Regions from separate parts of the Homo sapiens genome. Here region 1 is linked to region 2. Evidence: promoter capture Hi-C in 16 types of primary human blood cells and fetal thymus (Javierre and others, 2016). All regions are on one chromosome and are shown on one strand. The core of a region is centred on a gene start or on the middle of the fragment in contact, and the rest is flanking DNA. Distances in the headings are between cores, read along the strand shown.

What was found. The method cuts DNA at HindIII sites, captures the fragments that hold promoters and counts their contacts. A CHiCAGO score of 5 or more calls a contact.
Region 1: a contact is called between a fragment that was not itself captured here and the fragment with the promoter of MYBPH in region 2, in 1 of 17 cell types (M0 macrophages). The highest score is 5.8, in M0 macrophages.

Annotation. Positions count from the first base shown.
Region 1 is chr1:203,060,781-203,063,480 of GRCh38, reverse strand. PPFIA4 (PPFI scaffold protein A4) reads right to left here. Exons shown (of 30, transcript NM_001304331.2): 23 at 2,449-2,511; 24 at 1,803-1,829. Among named protein-coding and RNA genes, the nearest start is that of MYOPARR, 22 kb to the left of the region's middle. RefSeq lists an enhancer at 1,888-2,472. The HindIII fragment of the contact is 1,876 bases long and covers 349-2,224 here.
Region 2 is chr1:203,174,551-203,177,250 of GRCh38, reverse strand. MYBPH (myosin binding protein H) reads left to right here and starts at 1,425. Exons shown (of 11, transcript NM_004997.3): 1 at 1,425-1,700; 2 at 1,790-1,924; 3 at 2,654-2,700. The coding sequence starts at 1,496. The HindIII fragment of the contact is 10,255 bases long and covers 663-2,700 here.

The DNA of each region.
Region 1 (2,700 bases), core at 37-2,536, 110 kb after region 2:
TCTCAGTGAGCCTCAAGCCCGCTGAGCCCAGGGGAGAGGCTGTGTTACAGAGGACCTGCAGCGTGGCAAAGGAAGCCTGTCTCACTCCGGGACAAGGCTGGCTTCATGGAGGAAGCAAGGAAGTTAAATGTTGGCAGAAGACTGAAAAAAATAAAGGGTGGTGGCCTGTGCCTGAATAGCCAGCAGCACTCATTCTCTAAGGCCTGAGCCTCTGCTCCAAGAACACTCCAGGTCCTCTGTTGCTTTCCCACGCACACCCTGCCGTGTGGTCCTGCAGGGCCTGTGCCATGTGGACGTGGCCTCCTGACCTGGGCAGGGTGCTCCGTGACCACCCAACTTGAGAAAGCTTTAGTTTTCATAGCGACCCTACCTCACTCTTTCCTTACCCTTACTTGATGTTTTCAGATAGAAAAAGTCTATTTTGTTCTCTTTTACAATGTAATAGCTGATACATATAAGACTATATGTAATGTGCCCATTATGAAGCATATAAATGAAGTTAGCAACAGTGGACACCAACCAAGCTAAGCAGCAGAGCATTACCCACACTGTACTGTTTGCACACTGATGCTCGCTGTCAGCACACATCTCCTACTGCCCCTCTAAAAGGGAACCACTATGCTGAGTTTTCTGACTATTCCTTTGGTTGTAAAAAACTGTTTTACACTTTTTACAATCATCCATGTATATTTCCCTAAACAACATATTATTAATTTTGTTTGGTTTTGAGTTTTGGGATCAAATTCCATGCATCTTTTAGGATCTGCATTCTTCATTTCACACCCTATGGCTCGGATCCCCCCCGACCCATCACCTCTGCCAAGGGTGTTTTATGGCATGAATGATTCAGCCAGTCTCCTGCTGGTGGGGTTTTCCCTGAGCAGATATACACAGTGCTGCTCCCTGCTTCATTCTTCACAGCTCGCATCACTATCCAATATTGTCCCTTTATTTGTTTACTTATTGAGACTATCTTTTTTTTTTTTTTTTTTTTTTTTTTTGAGACGGAGTCTTGCTCTGTCACCCAGGCTGGAGTGCAGTGGTGTGATCTCGGCTCACTGCAAGCTCCGCCTCCCAGGTTCACGCCATTCTCCTGCCTCAGCCTCACGAGTAGCTGGGACTACAGGCGCCCGCCACCATGCCTGGCTATTTTTTTTTTGTATTTTTAGTAGAGACGGGGTTTCACTGTGTTAGCCAGGATGGTCTTGATCTCCTGACCTCGTGATCCGCCCGCCTCGGCCTCCCAAAGTGCTGGGATTACAGGTGTCAGCCACCGCGCCCAGCCGAGACTGTCTTTTTTATCCCTATTGACATGGTTTGTTTACTGATATTATTCCTTTATTTGTTTACTGCCTCCATGAGGGCTTGCTTTCTTTACTTCTATATCCAGAGAGCCAGGAAAGGCCTAATCCTTATATTTGCTCAATAAACGTTTGCTCATGAAATGGATGAAAGACCTTCGCTCAGTTCACCAGGGTGCCCCTGAGAGGGACAGGGAGAGGAAGAAGACTCATACTAATCTAGGTCTGATTATTCCCAGGAAAAGAATGAGACTGAGGAGAAGGGCCAGGAATGCAGGGGCCACAGTCCTCCAGGGCTCCTCACCTGCCACCCTGAGAAACCAGAACAAGCAGTTTGAGGGAACTGGGTGGGGGCGGGGGGCACTCTGATGGGAGCAGAGAACCTATGTCCAGGGCTTTTCATATGAAGGACTCAGAGATTCCTGCTGCGGAGAGAACCTACCAGAAGAACACTGTCCTGAAGTTTTGGGAGCTGGTTCTAGACAGGGTAGGGAGTCTTACCTGAGCCCAGCTGCCCTCCTCACTGTCCTAGCAGGAACGAGTGCAGCGTGTTAGGGGAAACAGGCAAAGTCAAGAAACCCATCAGCTCTACCCTAGGCCCCATCAAGGAGAGGAAAAAGACATCCCAGTATCTGGCTGGGTGACTGGGGAAAGCTCGTCAGGATGGTTAAGAGAGAACACAAGGTTGGTGTGTGCACCCATGTTTGCGTTGAGGTGGGGCAAATGTGTGTGTGGCAAAAACACACACCTCCCAGGCTTGACTGGGAGCCAGGCAAGATGCCCAGCTCTCCCAACACTCCCCATTCCTCCACCAGGGAGGAAGCACAAGGGCAGAGACTCTGTGGCTCAGGTCCATAGCAGGGCAAAGCCCTCCCCAGCCCAACTCTCCTCCGCTGTAGCACACCAGTGGCCCAGGGCAAGCTTGTGACCTCCTGGGAAGGATCACACACATACAAACTGCTCCGCTCCCAGCCTCACCCCTCTCCCGACAACCCTCCACCGTGACAGCAGATCACACCTCAGGGATACCAACCTCACGTGAGATCGATGGCAGCCCACTCTGACTGCCCACAGCCTTCCCCTCATCCTCATGGGAGTATCAGTCCCAACCCCAGGCCCAGGGACAAAGGCCAAGGGCCAGACTCACTGTTTTAGTAGATGTTTCCAGAGTTTCCATCTCTTCATGGGTGACCCAGACATTCCCAGAAGACTGCAGGCAGAGAGGAAACCTAGCTGGTCCTGGGTGTGGGTCCCCAGGATCCCCATCAGGCTGGGAGCCCAAAGGACAAGGACAAAGCTCCCTCCCTGAGTCCTCTGAAATGGGGGCTGGTCTCAATCATGGAGATGGCCGACAATGAAAGACTCCACCCCAGGGGCCCACAGAGCAGTCCGCATTCTT
Region 2 (2,700 bases), core at 176-2,675:
AGATATCCCTGTTCCTCCACCTAGAGGCAATCGCCATCCTAACTTTTGTACTGGCCTCATCTTCCTTTCTGGCCTTACCGCCTACGGATGTACCTTGAAGAAGGGAGCCTGGTGTTGACTGCATTTGGATTTAATGTAGATGAGACAGATGAGACGCAACATTTCTGTGTGCCTTGCTCTTCTGCTCATCACTGGGTCTGTGAGTAGCTGAAGTTGCTCATTTGACCCCATATTTTGCTTTACAGTTGCATAAACACTCCACAGTTATTTATCCATCCCACTGTTGAGGGACAGCTGTTTTCCCCCACATTTCAACAATTACAAATAACATTGCCATGAACCTTCTTCTCCATGTCTCCTGGGGCATGTGTGGGTGTTATATGAGCGGCACGGCTGGGTCACGGAGTAGGCACCTCATCCATTTTACTAGGCACTAGTAAAACTCTCACATTTTCCAGAGTGACTGCTCCAATACCAGCAATAAAAGTTCTTAATGTTCTCCCTCCTTCCTGACACATGGCATTTTCTGGCTTTCCAGTGATTCCCAGTCTTAACATTTTATCGAACAAATGAATCAATGACTAGAAATCTGGCCATATCTGCCTCCTTTGGCACACTGAGAAAGCCCATGCCCACAGCCTGCTTGGAAGAGTCTAGAAGCTTCAGAGTGCTCTCCTCCACTAGGGCATCTTCCAGATCTGCCTACAACTGCAACCCATCCCGAAGGGCGAGGGGTTCTCTGTAACAGGTGGAAAACTGAGGCCCACAGCAGGCATCAGGGGAGACGAGCTCCTTACCAGCCGCCCAACTGAGACAGGAGCCAGGAGACTTAGTGCCCCTTCCTGGGGTTCCAATGCTGGAGGACCATCCTCTGAGCAGCTCCACCCTCAGCATCTCAATTCCCTCCCTCTCTAGGGCCCTCAGCCTCATACAGCACAGGCGAGAGTCCCTGGGAACTGTGGGAGCCCAGGGAATGTGGACCCCAGAGGCAAAGCTGGGAGTGCTCACAAGGACGATTGTCCCAAACTGTCAGGGCCCCAGCACCCAGTCTGAGAAGCTCTGGGAACAAGTGGCCCCATAGACGCCAGACACACAGAGCCTGAGCTGGGCTCATTCTCCAGATAGAAGTTCTTCCTCCTATTGCCCTGACACCTGGCACGCGGCCTGCTCGATGTCCCATCTCACCCATCTGCGCCCTCCCCCAGCTGGGCACCAGCACCCTGGCTGTTGAAGGCCAGTCGGGGAGATGGATGAGGAAGTGACTCCTCAAGGGGCCCTTGTGGTTCCTCCCCCAGAGCTATTCCTGGCCTGGGCGCCTCTCCACCCTCCAGTCCTCCTGCTTGACCTGACCCCACAGCTGGGAATCGTTTGCTGGGGGTGGGGCAGCCCCTGACTATATAAGCCTGGACCTAGGTGTCCCAGGCACCCTAGAGGCCCAGGCCCCCCAACGGCTGACCCCTGCACACTCCACCCTGGCCCCCCAGCCAGTCCAGCAATGATGGAAAAAAACACCTCCGAGGGCCCTGCCTGCAGTCCAGAGGAGACCGCATCTGAATCTGCCAAGGTGCCCACAGCAGAGCCTCCCGGAGAAGTGGCAGTATCAGAGTCCACCAGAGAAGAGCAGGTGCCCAAGCCGCAGGCCCCTGCCCCACAGGCCCCTACAGCCTCCACAGCCACTAAGCCTGCACCCCCAAGTGAAGGTGACTGAAGGTGGGGCAGGGGGAGGAGGGAGGCAGGCATGTCAGGGGTGGAGGGGAGCTCTTGGCCATGAACCTCTTCATCTCCCCAGATGTCCCCAGTGCCCCACTGCTGCTGACCCTGGATGATGTGAGCAGCAGCTCTGTGACTGTGAGCTGGGAGCCCCCAGAGAGGCTGGGGAGGCTGGGCCTCCAGGGCTATGTGCTGGAGCTCTGCAGAGAGGGAGGTGAGTGCTGGGCTAAGTCTTGCATACACCCAGGGGAGGTTGTCATGGAGGGCTGCAGGGACAAGTGCACAGGCCCTGTGGTTGGTCAGTCTGGGAGAGATACAGAAGGAGGGGATGCGAGCAGTAGGCTCCTCAACCCACCCACCTGCCCTTTCTTGCTCCACCAGCAGGAGAGCAAGAAAGGGTAGGTGGGTGGGTTGAGGGGCTCCCTTGTCCTCAGCTCCAAGGAGCTTCTGAGTAAGGGAAGGGTAAGGGGACACTGGGTTCTCCTTTGGTGAGAAGGGAAGGAAGTGCTAAGTCTCAGAGGACCCCGAACTGTAGGAAGTGGAAAGGGAGGAGCTGGAGAGGGGAATGTTAGCGTAAGAGACAGTGAGGAGAAAGCGGGAATGGGGTGGGGGTGTGGGGGCCACATCCCTGCTGCCACTGTCCCCCTCCATGGCCCAAGTCCAGCCTGGCCTCTGCCTCTGCCCCTACCTTGCTGTGTGACTTTGCAAATGTGTCCAACCCTCTCTGGGCTTCAACAACCTCATCTCTAGCCACAATTTCAGGGCTCTAACATCAGGTGTCTTTGATGCCATTTGACAAGAAGTCAGGGAAGGCAAACAAGGGGAAAATGAGGCCCAGAGAGGGAGGCTGATTTCCCCAGATCACCAGCAGGAAAAGAAGCCCCATGGAGAGGGGCGCCTGTGGCCACATTGCAAAGACCTCACACTCTCTCCATCCCCTCAGCCTCGGAGTGGGTGCCTGTGAGTGCCCGGCCCATGATGGTGACCCAG